Linked DNA regions of Homo sapiens: regions 1 and 3 are each linked to region 2. The links are contacts of gene promoters, found by promoter capture Hi-C in human tissues and cell types (Jung and others, 2019). All regions are on one chromosome and are shown on one strand. Each heading gives the region's core, a stretch centred on a gene start or on the middle of the fragment in contact. The rest is flanking DNA. Distances are from core to core; before and after follow the strand shown. Region 1 overlaps SBDS (SBDS ribosome maturation factor). Region 2 holds the start of KCTD7 (potassium channel tetramerization domain containing 7). Region 3 has its middle 29 kb from the start of TPST1.

What was found. The method cuts DNA at HindIII sites, captures the fragments that hold promoters and counts their contacts. A contact is called where the count stands out against the background at its distance.
Region 1: a fragment that was not itself captured here is called in contact with the fragment with the promoter of KCTD7 in region 2 in 2 of the 25 tissues and cell types used here (aorta and dorsolateral prefrontal cortex).
Region 3: a fragment that was not itself captured here is called in contact with the fragment with the promoter of KCTD7 in region 2 in 1 of the 25 tissues and cell types used here (IMR-90 fibroblasts).

Annotation. Positions count from the first base shown.
Region 1 is chr7:66,984,155-66,989,015 of GRCh38, reverse strand. SBDS (SBDS ribosome maturation factor) reads left to right here. Exons shown (of 5, transcript NM_016038.4): 5 at 517-1,336. The coding sequence ends at 645. Among named protein-coding and RNA genes, the nearest start is that of SBDS, 9.0 kb to the left of the region's middle. The HindIII fragment of the contact is 6,084 bases long and covers 1-4,861 here.
Region 2 is chr7:66,626,765-66,631,383 of GRCh38, reverse strand. It overlaps KCTD7 (potassium channel tetramerization domain containing 7), which reads right to left and starts at 2,503. Exons shown (of 4, transcript NM_153033.5): 1 at 2,176-2,503. The coding sequence starts at 2,319. RefSeq lists silencers at 2,143-2,712, 3,723-3,922. The HindIII fragment of the contact is 13,354 bases long and covers 1-4,619 here.
Region 3 is chr7:66,174,448-66,178,871 of GRCh38, reverse strand. No RefSeq gene overlaps it. Among named protein-coding and RNA genes, the nearest start is that of TPST1, 29 kb to the left of the region's middle. RefSeq lists a silencer at 770-933. The HindIII fragment of the contact is 7,445 bases long and covers 1-4,424 here.

The sequences.
Region 1 (4,861 bases), core at 1,119-3,618, 360 kb before region 2:
TTCCTGTAATCCCAGTTTCTTGGGAGGCTGAGGCAGGAGAATCACTTGAACCTGGGAGGCGGAGGCTGCAGTGAGCCAAGATCACACCACTGCACTCTATCTCAAAAAAAAATAAATTAACATACACATGGTGTCTACATAAGTCTTCACATTGCTTTTTCTCCTTCATACGTGGAGGTGACTTTACTGAGCTATAAAATGTAATGCTAAATTTTAGTATGAGAAGAATCAGAGTTTTCTAGTTTGTCCCTTCCATTTACAGCTGAAGAATCAGAATAAGTGTTTAAACATAGGGATTAATGCCTTGTCACAGGGGGCTACATGGACACTTGAGGGCAGAGGCTAAACTGGAACCCAGTGTGCCGCCCTACCCATTGTCTTATCTATTGCACCATAGAACTGTGGTATTATTAGAGATCTGGACAGCATTGTGCTTGCCTCAAAGGAAGTTAAAGCTGAGTTTATTCTGTGTCTTGCTCATCCTCATGTGGTAATCTGCTACGTTAAATGTTTCAGGTATGTCTGATTGACCCGGGCTGCTTCCGAGAAATTGATGAGCTAATAAAAAAGGAAACTAAAGGCAAAGGTTCTTTGGAAGTACTCAATCTGAAAGATGTAGAAGAAGGAGATGAGAAATTTGAATGACACCCATCAATCTCTTCACCTCTAAAACACTAAAGTGTTTCCGTTTCCGACGGCACTGTTTCATGTCTGTGGTCTGCCAAATACTTGCTTAAACTATTTGACATTTTCTATCTTTGTGTTAACAGTGGACACAGCAAGGCTTTCCTACATAAGTATAATAATGTGGGAATGATTTGGTTTTAATTATAAACTGGGGTCTAAATCCTAAAGCAAAATTGAAACTCCAAGATGCAAAGTCCAGAGTGGCATTTTGCTACTCTGTCTCATGCCTTGATAGCTTTCCAAAATGAAAGTTACTTGAGGCAGCTCTTGTGGGTGAAAAGTTATTTGTACAGTAGAGTAAGATTATTAGGGGTATGTCTATACAACAAAAGGGGGGGTCTTTCCTAAAAAAGAAAACATATGATGCTTCATTTCTACTTAATGGAACTTGTGTTCTGAGGGTCATTATGGTATCGTAATGTAAAGCTTGGATGATGTTCCTGATTATCTGAGAAACAGATATAGAAAAATTGTGCCGGACTTACCTTTCATTGAACATGCTGCCATAACTTAGATTATTCTTGGTTAAAAAATAAAAGTCACTTATTTCTAATTCTTAAAGTTTATAATATATATTAATATAGCTAAAATTGTATGTAATCAATAAAACCACTCTTATGTTTATTAAACTATGGCTTGTGTTTCTAGACAACTTCCTAACTCCCTTTCTTTTCTCTGCCTGTGTCTGTGGTAGGGTTAGGGAGTTGTCAGGAGAACTGAATAAGTCCATATGAAGAGTGCTTAGAACAGGGCCTGTACTTGTAAACACCTGAAAAATTTTTGCTAACACTTGGGATGTAATTGGGAAGAATTATTTTAGTATTTAAACACTTAAATGGACAAGATGCAAGCTTTTAAAAATCTACTTCAAGGCCAGGGGAGGTGACTCACACCTGCAATCCCAACACTTTGGGAGGCCGAGGCAGGCGGATCACCTGAGGTCAGGAGTTTGAGACCAGCCTGACCCACATGGTGAAACCCTGTCTCTACTAAAAATACAAAAATTAGCCAGGCATGGTGGTGCACGCCTGTAGTCCCAGCTACTCGGGAGGCTGAAGCAGGAGAATCACTTGAACCCAGGAGGCAGAGGTTGCAATGAGCTGAGAATGTGCCACTGCACTCCAGTCTAGGTGACAGAGTGAAACTCGGTCTCCAAAAAAAAGAAAAAAAATCTATTTCAAAAGATACATTCTAGAATATAAATTAAATTCACTCAAAATAAACATACAGATGTATTTCTGGACAGCAGTTTTTAACTGAAGACAGGCTTCTTGACTTGAAAAGGTACTGATTGGTTTATAAGCACACACAACTCCCTGCTAATACAAGCTCTCAGAAATGTCCCTTTAGTTTAAAATAACTAACATTGAGGTTATAAAGTCAAAATTTTTTCTTATATTGTTAACAAAATACATTGATAACATGGGAATGAACACTTTTTCTGTTAATGCTAAAGCTAGGCTGCTGTTTTGATACAGCTATTTGTTCAATATATCAATAGTTCTATCTTAGTAAAAAAATATAAACATTTAATAGAACATTTCCTTAAGATTTTCTGGGGCCAGGCGCAGTGGCTCCCACCGGTAATCCCAGCACTTTGGGAGGCCAAGGCGGGTGAATCACTTGAGCTTGGGAGTTTGAGACCAGCCTGGGCAACACAGTGAAACCCCGTCTCTACAAAAATACAAAAAATTAGGCATGGTGGTGTGCACCTGTTTTCCCAACTACTTGGGAGGCTGAGGCAGGAGGATCACTTGAGCCCGGGAGGCGGAGGTTGCAGTGAGCTAAAATCACCCCACTGCACTCCAGCCTGGACAACAGAGCCAGACCCCATCTCAAAACAAAGATTTTCTGATTCTGAATATTCATTTTTTCTAAAAAGCTGGAACTTCAAGAAATGTCAAATGTGGATCACATCTGAGTCATCATCTAAACTTATTTTTTTAATTTTATACTAATTTCATTATCAAAGAACTTAACATTTTTTGGTTCATGATCATCTTCCCAGTACCACAGCCATAATGGATTATTTTAAGGATTGGTTTGACTTTTTCAATGCAAGCTGATGGTGTGTGCATTTGGTCACAATGACATTTCAGACTTAGGCCTCTTCTTTTACCACAGTTCTTTTCTCTGAAGCTTCCCTTGTACCCCATACACAAGTATTTGCTCCAGTTGCTGGAAGCCAGTACTCTACTTAAATTCCTTCATGGGTCTGGATTTATTCAAACTTGTATTAGAGCTGCTTAATTATCTGCCTTCAGGCTAGACTGTGAGCTCCTTAAGGGCAAGGGACTTAGCAATGTGTGTGTATATCCCACCATGCTTTGGACCTAGCAGATGTGGAGTAAATGTCTGAAATAATAAACACGTGGACCAGGCACAGTGGCTCATGCCTGTAATCCCAGCACTTTGGGAGGCCCAGGTGGGCAGATCACCTGAGGTCAGGAGTTCAAGACCAGCCTGGCCAAAATGACGAAACCCAGTCTCTATTAAAAATACAAAAATTAGCTGGCTGTGGTTGCTCACGCCTGTAATACCAAGACTTTGGGAGGCCAAGGCAGGCAGATCACGAGGTCAAGAGATCGAGACCATCCTGGCCAACATGCTGAAACCCTGTCTCTACTAAAAATACAAAAATTAGCTGGGCACGGTGGCGCATGCCTCTAGTCCCAGCTACTCAGGAGGCTGAGGCAGGAGAATCACTTGAACCTGGTAGGCAGAGGTTGCAGTGAGCCACTGCACTCCAGCCTGGGTGACAGAGCGAGACGCTGACTCAAAAAAAAAAAGAAATTAGCTGGGCATGGTGGCGGCCGCCTGTAATCCCAGCTGCTCAAGAGGCTGAGGCTAGAGAATCTCTTGAACCTAGGAGGCAGAGGTTGCAGTGAGCCAAGATTCTGCCACTACACTCCAGCCTGGGTGACAAGAGCAAAACTCCATCTCAAAAAAAATATATTTTATATCAGAACTAAATGTAAACATAAAACTATCAGATACTGGCTTACACCTGTAATCTCAACACTTGGGGAGGCCAAGGCTGCCGGATCACGATGTCAGGAGATGGAGACCATCCTGGCTAACACGGTGAAACCCCGTCTCTACTAAAAATACAAAAAATTAGCCGGGAGTGGTGGCACGTGTCTGTAGTCCCAGCTACTCGGGAGGCTGAGGCAGGAGAATCACTTGACCCTGGAAGATGGAGATTGCAGTGAGCCAAGATCACACCACTGCACTCCAGCCTGGGCGACAGAGCGAGACTCCATCTCAAAAAACAAACAAACAACAACAACAAAAAACTGTGAGTTAGTAGAAAATATAAGGAAATATTTAACCTAAGGGTTAAAAGACTTTCTTAAGAAAAACAGAAACCTAAAAATTATCAAGGAAAATACCAACAGATTTAACTACATAAAAATGTAAAATTTCAGAATGACAGAAGACACTTTAAAGAAAGTTTAAAGAGTCCAGGCACAGTGGCTCATGCCTATAATCCCAGCACTTTGGGAGACCAAGGCAGGAGCATCGCTTGAGTCCAGGAGTTCAAGACCAGCCTGAGCAACATAGCAAGACTCTGTCTGTACAAAAATTAAAGAATTAACTGGGTGTAGGCTGGGTGCAGTGGCTCACGCCTGTAATGCCAGCACTTGGGAGGTTGAGGCGGGCAGATCACCTGAGGTCAGAAGTTCAAGACCAGCCTGGCTAACACGGTGAAACCCCATCTCTACTAAAAATACAAAAAATTAGCCGGGTGTAGTGGCACGTGCCTGTAGTCCCAGCTACTTGGGAGCCTGAGGCAGGAGAATCGCTTGAACCCGGGAGGCAAAGGTTGCAGTGAGTTGAGATTGCACCATAGCACTCCAGCCTGAGCCTAGGCGACAGAACAAGACTCCGTCTCAAAAAAAAAAAAAAAAGAATTAACTGGGTATAATGACACATGCCTGTAGTCCCAGCTACTAGAAAGGCTGAGGTAGGAGGATTGCTTGAGCCTGAGAGGTTGAGGATGCAGTGAACCATGATCAGGCCACTGCACTCAGCCTAGGCAACACAGTGAGACCCTGTCTCAAGAAAAAAGTTTAAAGATATTATGGCTCAGCTAGGCACAGTGGCTCATGCCTGTAATCCCAGCACTTTGGGAGGCCAAAGCTGGTGGATCACTTTAAGTCAGGAGTTCAAT
Region 2 (4,619 bases), core at 1,254-3,753:
TTGGCCAAGCTGGTCTCAAAGTCCTAACCTCAAGTGATCTTCCTGCCTTGGCCTCCCAAAGTGCTGGGATTATAGCCATGCATCCTTTTCAATATTACATCTCTCCTGCTCCAGTGAAAGTCTGCTTATCTACACAGTACCTTTCCCAGCTTTCAAATCCTTTGTGAAATAAAATAGGGTACAAATACATTAAATAAAGCTGACCCAGGGCCTTGTGCAGCGCCTGGCTCAAATAAAGACCCAAAATTCACCGAATGAATGAAAGAAATAGACAGGTAGTTACACTTCCGTGTGTGTATGCACTGTTACTCTTCTGCACCCACAGGACATGAAAATGCCTTGCGCTTATTCTGTAGGTCCTCTAAAACCATTTTATGTGTATATCAAGGGCTCAGATATCATTTTGGAATAATAATACTTAACATTTCTGGAGCTCTTTAAACCTTTTCTAAAGATACTTCATACCAATCCAAGTGCTTGCTCCATATTAGAGATGAGAGGATTGAAGCAGAGAGGACAAAAGCCATCGGAAACAGTTTTGGAGCTCACATGGGGCAATGTCATCAGTGGGGGGAACTGGTGGTGGGGCCCTGGTCTGCAATCTGTGGTCTTGTGCTCTTTCCCTCAAACCATATCATTTTCCCAATGACAGTGCACAAAAAAATAGCACCACTGTGACTAATGACTTTTTTCCAATTGCAGAGATTACTTCTAGATTTTTGCTCATTTTCCCATGGCATTGTGTGTATGGGGCTTGCAATCCCAGCACAACACTATCTGCTTCCCAAGAGCATCACCTAGCCCAGCCTGTTGAGGGCCTCAATTGTTGAGGGCCTCCATTGTCCTGGGACTCCGCATACCACATGCTCCTGGATCTGGCACTACCTTAGTCCCTGCCTCCTAGAAGCCATCTTCGGTGTCCAGTAATGCTTCACCTTCCCTCCTCTTTATTTTTTATTTGTAGAGATGGAGTCTGTGTTGCCCAAGCTGGTCCCAGACTCCTGGCCTCAAACCATCCTCCTGCCTTGACCTCCCAAAGTGCTGGGATTACAAGTGTAAGCCACCACACCTGGCATCGTTTCCCTTCTCTTGCTTTTTTTGTTTTTGTTTGTTTGTAGGTACGGTCTTACTCTATCACACCCAGGCTGGAGTACAGTGGCACAATTACAGCTCACTGCAGCCTCAACCTCCAGGGCTCAAGCAATCCTCCCAACTCACCTTCCTGAGCACCTGGGACTACAGGCACACACCACCAAGCCTGGCTAATTTTCATTTTTGTAGAGGCAGGGTCTCACTGTTGCCCTGACTAGTCTCTAACTGCTGGGATCAAGCAATCCTCCCACCTCAGCATCCCAAACTGCTGAGATTACAGATGTGAGCCACCATGCCTGGTATCTTCTCCCGTCTCTTGAGTGTCATTTCAGGTGTTGACATGATAGTATCACACACATTAAGTAAGACCCGTGGAAGCCCCTGTGCACCAGAGCACAGCAGCCTGTGAGTGAAAGCCATGGGATGCCAGGTGACCGTGCCTACATCTATGAACTGGCCTGCCCCTTATGTGCAGACAGCTCCTTGCCTTGTTCCTTAGGTAGCTGGAGACTAGGTGTGGGCAACCACTACAGCATCCTGTTGGATTCTCTAGAAGACATCTTTTTCTTTTCTTTTTTTTATTCATCCAACCCAAAATGCCTTTGTTTTTCCAGTCGTAGTAGGGACGGGGCCTCGCTATGTTGCCCAGGCTGGCCTCCAACTCCTGCCCTCAAGCGATCCTCCCTCCCAATGTGTTGGGATTACAGGCTCGAGCTACGGTGCCTGGTCAGACACACCATCAGCTCTCGGGGCTCCAGGGTCCCCCTCCCACGGCCCACCCTCCCTCCTGTCTTCGGTAAAAGTGGGACATGGCGATGGGAGTAAATCACCCCAGTGACTACTGGGCGGAGGGTGTAGGGGGTGGGGAAGCACACCTAGTGGGTGTAATTGACAGGGGTTGAAGGTGGGTGGGTAGGGGTGCAGGTGGGCGGGGGAGTTGCAGGTGGGCGGGGGAGGGGCGCAAGTCCGCGGGCCCCGCCCCCAACCCCGGCCCCGCCCACCCGCCGAGGACCGCTATGCCCCGCGCCCGCTTCTCCCCCGCGCCCCTCCCCACGCCCCGCGGCCCGCCGCCCGCCCGGGTACCTCCTGTGGCAGCAGGGGCAGCGCGTGCCCCGCCTGCGTGGCCGTCGGCGTGGCCGGCTCCAGAAAGTCGTCTTCGGCGTCAGAGCTGGACATGGCACCGTCCTGACGACGGCTGTCTGGCTCCCGCCCCGTGACTACCACCATCCCTCTGGCTCTGGGCAGTGGGCGCGGCTTCGGGCGGGCGGAGGCGGCGGCCCCGGGCACTCCCTACCGCCGAGCAGCGCCTGGCATGACGCGGCCGGCTGCGGGCTGGCCGGAGGGGGGCGAGAGGCAGTGCGCAGGCGGGAGGGCGGTGGCTCCCTCAACGCCGACCCGCTCGCGCCCAGCTGGGGCCTGACCCGACCGCCTCCCGCTACTGGCCGACGCCGCGCTGGTTCCGCCCTGATTGGCAGGAAGCTCGCCCAGTCGAAGAGCAGGCAGCGCCAGCGGCCGGCGCCTGAGTGGTCCCTGGGTTGGGGGGGGGGGGGGGGGGCGGCCTGCGAGCCTGCCGTGCACTGATTGGTCCTCTGGCCAGCGGGCGCGCCCTCTCCGAGAGACCCGGCGGTGGTGCGCCGCTACGCTCTCATAACTGGGCGTCGGAGTCTGCCGTGAAGAGGGTTCTCACCCGCGTCAGGGTAGACGCCTTATCCCTTCACACAGGGGGTCACGACTTACTCGTGTGTCTGGCCCCAGAGCAGCGGGTCCTTGTCTCCTCAATGGAAGGCCTGAGCAGCCTTTCCTGGAGGATGTGGCGGGAGGAGGGCTGAGGTGGCTGCGGACACGCCACCGCGGCTGGCCCCGCCCCGAGCCGCAGGGCACCGCCCGGGTGTCCAGTTCTTCCTCACTCGCTCGCGCAGAAATCCGAACGAGAAAACCCAAAATAGGAGCGCTTGAGTTCAATGAATAATGACAGTGACTCCCCACCGTGACCGTTTTTCCACCGGGACACACAGATGGAGACAGGCCCTTCCCCAAGATGCTCCCGGCTCCCTGGGAGGCGGAGTCCAGCCCTAGAGGCTCTATCAGCGCAGGGAGTCTCCTGGGGGTCAAGGTTCTTAGCCCGTTCAAGCCATTTTCTCCTTTCTTTAAAAGACAAAGTCTCACTCTGTTACCCAGGCTGAAGTGCAGTGGCGCAATCATAGCTCATTGCAACCCCTGGGCTCAAGCAATCCTCCCGCCCCAGCCTCCCGAGTAGCTGGGACCACAGACGCGCACCACCACACTCAGCTGATTTTTTAAAATTTTGGCCGGGCGCAGTGGCTCACGCCTGTAATCCTGGCTCTTTGGTAAGCGATGCGGGTGGATCACCTGAGGTCAGGAAGTTGAGACCAGCCTGGCCAACATGGTGAAACCTCATCTCTACTAAAAATACAAAATTAGCCAGGCATGGTGGCACACCTGCAATCCCAGCTACTAGGGAGGCTGAGGCAGGAGAATCGCTTGAACCCAGGAGATGGAGATTGCAGTGAGGCGAGATCACGGCCACTATACTCCAACCTGGGCAACAAGAGCGAAACTCCGTCTCAAAAAAGAAAAAAAAATTTTTTTTTTTTTTTTTTTTTAAGAAATGGGGTCTTGTCATGTTGCCCAGGCTGGTCTCAAACTCCTTGCCTCAAGCTGTCCTCCCTCGTCAGCCTCCCAAAGTGCTGGGATCGCAGGCGTGTGCAACCATGCTTCTCCTTTTCAAACCGTTTTCACACCCAGTTCCTCATCTCATTCTCACAGTGTAGTGACAGAAAAGAAAACTGAGTCGTAGATTAGACAGCTCCAGGATGGCAAAGATGAGCTGGTGGCATAGCACTTCCTCTGTTAGACCATCGCACTCCCAGCTGCAGGAGTGTCCTAGGTCTGTGTTTTCTCCAACTTCAGTTGCATCAAAATCCCTGGAGGGAGACCTTGTTTAAACACAGATGAAAAGGAATGAAATCACGTCATCTGCAGCAACGTGGATGGACGTCATTATGTTAAGTGAAATAAGCCAGGCACAGAAAGACATAAATATTGCATGTTCTTATCTGTGGCAGCTAAAACAAATCGATCTCATAAATTTAGAGAGTAGAAAGAAACCAGAGGCTGGGAACGGTTGGGTGAGAAATGAAGAGATTTAGGTTAATGAAGGACATACAGTTAGATAAAAAGGTTTATGTTCTATGGTTCAAAAGCAGAGTAGTGACTATAATTAACAACAATGGATTGTATATTTCAAAATAGCTGGAAGACACTTTGGGAAGCCAAGGCGGGAGGATACCTTGAGCCCAGGAGGTCAAGACCAGCCTGGACAACGTAGTTAGACCCTGCCTCTACAAAAAATAAAATATATATATAGCTGAGTGTGGTGGCTCACATCTGTAGTCCCAGCTACTAGGAGGGTAAAGCAAGGAGGATCATGCGAGCCAGGGAGGTCGAAGCTGCAGTGAGCTGTGATTGCACCACTGCATTCCAGTGCCTAGGTGACAGAGACTCTG
Region 3 (4,424 bases), core at 1,140-3,639, 450 kb after region 2:
GTATTTCTTTTTTTTTTTTTTTTTGAGACGGAGTTTTGCTTTTTCACCCAGGCTAGAGTGAAGTGGCACGATCTTGACTCACTGCAATCTTTACTCCCCAGCTTCCAGTGATTCTCCTGCCTCAGACTTCCCAGTAGCTGGGATTACAGGCGTGCGTCACCACGCCTGGCTAATTTCTGTATTTTTAGTAGAGACAGGATTTCACCATGTTGGCCAGGCTAGTCTCAAACTCCTGACCTCAGGTGATCCACCTGCCTCAGCATCCCAAAGTGCTGGGATTACAGGCATGAGCCACTGTGCCCGGTCTTGTGAGCTATTTTGAAGAATTTTCTGCCTTATGAGTCTTGCCACTACCCCATCCCCCAAGTTAGAAGCCAGGAAGCATGATTCTCCAGCCTCCCTTGCAGCTAAGGAATGGTCATGTGACTTAGGCTAGGTCATGTGACTGAGGCTCCACTAATCCAACATACTGTTGTGATACTTTAGAAATAAACATGAGCCAGGCATGGTGGTGCAACCTGTAATCCCATCACTTTGGGAAGCATAGGTGAGAGGATCGCTGGAGCCCAGAAGTTCAAGGCTGCAGTGAGCTATGATCATGCTACTGCACCCTAGCCTGGGCAACACAGTAAGACCCTGGTCTCTTTTTTTTTTTTTTTTTTGAGATGGGGTCTTGCTCTGTCTCCCAGGCTGAAGTGCAGTGGTGTGATCTTGGCCTACTGCAAGCTCCGTCTCCCGGGTTCATGCCATTCTCCTGCCTCAGCCTCCCAAGTAGCTGGGACTACAGGCACCCACCACCACGCCCGGCCAATTTTTTGTATTTTTAGTAGAGACGGGGTTTCACCATGTTAACCAGGATGATCTTGATCTCCTGATCTCGTGATCCACCCGTCTTGGCCTCTTAAAGTGCTGGGATTACAGGCCTCAGCCACCACACCCAGTCCCAGACCCTGGTCTCTTAAAAAAAAAAAAAAATGGCCAGCCACAGTGGCTCACGCCTGTAATCCCAGCACTTTGGGAGGCCAAGGCAGGTGGATCACGAGGTCAGGAGATCAAGACCATCCTGGCTAACACGGTGAAACTCCGTCTCTACTAAAAATAGAAAAAATTAGCTGGGTGTGGTGGTGGATGCCTGTAGTCCCAGTTACTCAGGAGGCTGAGGCAGGAGAATGGCATGAACCCGGGAGACAGAGCTTGCAGTGAGCCCAGATTGCGCCACTGCACTTCAGCCTGGGCAACAGAGCGAGACTCCGTCTCAGAAAAAAAAAAAAAAAAAGAGGCCAGGCACGGTGGCTCACGCCTGTAATCCCAGCACTTTGGGAGTCCGAAGCGGGCAGATCATGAGGTCAAGAGATCAAGACCATCCTGGCCAACATGGTGAAACCCTTTCTCTACTAAAAGTACAAAAATTAGCTGGGCATTGTGGCACATGCCTGTCTGTAGTCCCAGCTACCTGGGAGGCTGAGGCAGGAGAATTGCTTGAACCTGGAAGGCGGAGGTTGTAGTGAGGCAAGATTGTGCCTCTGCACTCCAATCTGGCAACACAGTGAGACTCTGTCTCAAAAAAAAAAAAAAAAAGAATTAATTAAATAAACAACATGAAAAAGCAGGCTCTATGTGGAGTCCATCCATCTGCTGGTGAGGATGACCACAGCAATGTCCAGCTCTGGGGGCTGGCAATAGCTGTGAGGTTGAGTTCCAGATACACATGTGGCATTGGTGCTGGTGACAGTGGTGGATGCAGTGGTTTCTGTCCCTGGCATCAGTGCACATTGGCTCAGTGTCCTGCACTTGGAAGGCTGGTTCTCTCATCATTTCAGTTTTGCAACGTGGTCTGGGCACTGTTCCTGGGAGCCCAGGGCCCTAGTGGTTCTGAGAGTTCCCCAGTGCCTGATAATAAATGCTTTTTCGGCTGGGTGTGGTGGCTCATGCCTGTAATCACAGCACTTTGGGAGGCTGAGGCAGGAGAAGTGCTTGAGGCCAGGAGTTTGAGACCAGCCTGGGCAACATAGCGAGATCCTCTTTCTACAAAAAATGGAAGAGAATAGGTGGGTGTGGTGGTGTGTGCCTATAGTCACAGCTACTCTGGAGGCGGAAGCAGCAGGATGGCTTGAGCCCAGGAGTCTGAGGCTGCCATGGGCTATGATTGCACCACTGCATGCCAGCCAGCCTAGGTGGTAGAGACCCTGTCTCAAATAAATAAATACCTGTAATCCCAGCACTTTGGGAGGCCAAGGTGGGCAGATCACCTGAGCTAAGGAATTCGAGACCACCCTGGGCAACATGGTGAAACCCCGTCTCTACTAAAATACAAAAAATTAGCCAGGCATTGTGGCAGGTGCCTGTAATCCCTGCCTACTTGGGAGGCTGAGGCAGGAGAATCACTTGAGCCCCGGAGGCAGAGGTTGCAGTGAGCCAAGATCACACCATGGCACTCCAGCTTGGGCTACCGAGTGAGACTCCATCTCAAATAAATAAATAAATAAATAAATTTTTTTTGAAAAGTGCCTTTTCTGTGCTAACTAGAGTATGTGCTGATGTTTGTAACTAGGAAACTTAACTGATACAGGAGGCAAAACTAAGTTAGGGAAGAAAGGTATAATCCAGAATAAATTGTAGGTATTATCTAGACTGACTTTAGGCCAGGTGCAGTGGCTCACAACTGTAATCCCAGCACTGGGGAGGCCAAAACGGGCAGATAACTTGAACCCAGGAGTTTGAGACCAGCCTGGGCAACATGGCGAGACCCCCATCTCTACAAAAAATACAAAAATTGGCCGGGCACGGTGGTTCACGCCTGTAATCCCAGCACTTTGGGAGGCTGAGGCGGGTGGATCACAAGGTCAGGAGATCGAGACCATCCTGGCTAACATGGTGAAACCCCGTCTCTACTAAAAATGCAAAAAATTAGCTGGGTGTGGTGGTGGGCGCCTGTAGTCCCAGCTACTCGGGAGGCTGAGGCAGGAGAATGGCGTGAACCCGGGAGACGGAGCTTGCAGTGAGCCAGGATTGCGCCACTGCACTCCAGCCTGGGTGACAGAACGAGACTCTGTCTCAAAAAAAAAAAAAGAAAAGAAAAAAATACAAAAATTAGCTGGGTGTGGTGGCAAACGCCGTTAGTCCCAGCTACTCGGGAAGCTGAGGGGGAAGGATTATTTGAGCCTAGGAAGCAGAGGTTTCAGTGAGCCGTGATTGCACCACTGCACTCCAGCCTGGGCAAGAGTAAGACCCTGTCTCAAAAAAGTGAAATAAAATGAAGTGCGATCCACGTGGGTCAGCAGCACCTGGGGGCTTGTTAGAACCACTTAATGTCAATATCACTCCAGTCCTGCTGAATCCACATTCGCTTTTTTTTTTTTTTTTTTTTTGAGACGGAGTCTTGCTCTGTCACCAGGCTGGAGTGCAGTGGCGTGCTATCAGCTCACTGCAACCTCTGCCTCTCAGGTTCAAGCAGTTCCCCTGCCTCAGCCTCCCAAGTAGCTGGGATTACAGGCACGTGCCACCACGCCCGGCTAATTTTTTGTATTTTAGTAGAGACGGGTTTTCACCATGTTGGCCAAGATGGTCTCAATCTCCTGACCTCGTGATCCACCCGCCTAGGCCTCCCAAAGTGCTGGGATTACAGCTGTGAGCCAGTGTGCCCGGCCCACATGCGCATTTTAATGAGATATCCAGGGAATTTGTTAACACAGATCAAGAAGCAGTCACTGCAGTGACTGCCAGCCCCAGCTGCACTTTGAAACCATTTGGGGACCATTTAAGAAAATATTGATGTCCATTTACATCCTCCATGACATCAGTTGATTCAGGTAAGAATCATCAGTGGAGACCAAAACCACAGGGCAAAAGGATGTGGGAGAGCAGGTTATTCCTACAACTCAAAGCTTTTCCCCATGGACCACTTATTGATTACAAAGAGGGAAAAATTACCTGTACAACAGATAACTCTGGCAGACACCACATAATAAGTGACAAGCTTAGCACAAATAGTGGGACAACGTGACAAGATGAACCTCCCACTGTGATGCCACGAGAAGATCACAACGTCATCCGTCTCACAACGAGAGAGAATTTCTGCCCAAAATGATGAACTTGAATCTAGTAATGACAGGGAAAAAAACAGACAAATCCAAATTGAGAGATAATCTGTAAAACAGATGCCTGGACTCTTGAAAAATGTCAGTTTCTTTTTTCTTTTTTTTTTTTGAGACTGATTCTTGCTCTGTCACCCAGGCTAGAGTGCAGGGACGCAATCTCGGCTCACTGCAACCTCTGCCTCCCGGGTTCAAGCGATTCTCCTGCCTCAGCCTCCCGAGTAGCTGGGGTTGCAGGCATGGGCCACTATGCCTGGCTAATTTTATATTTTTAGTAGAGATGGGGTTTCACCATGTTGGCCAGGCTGGTCTCGAACTCCTGACCTCAAG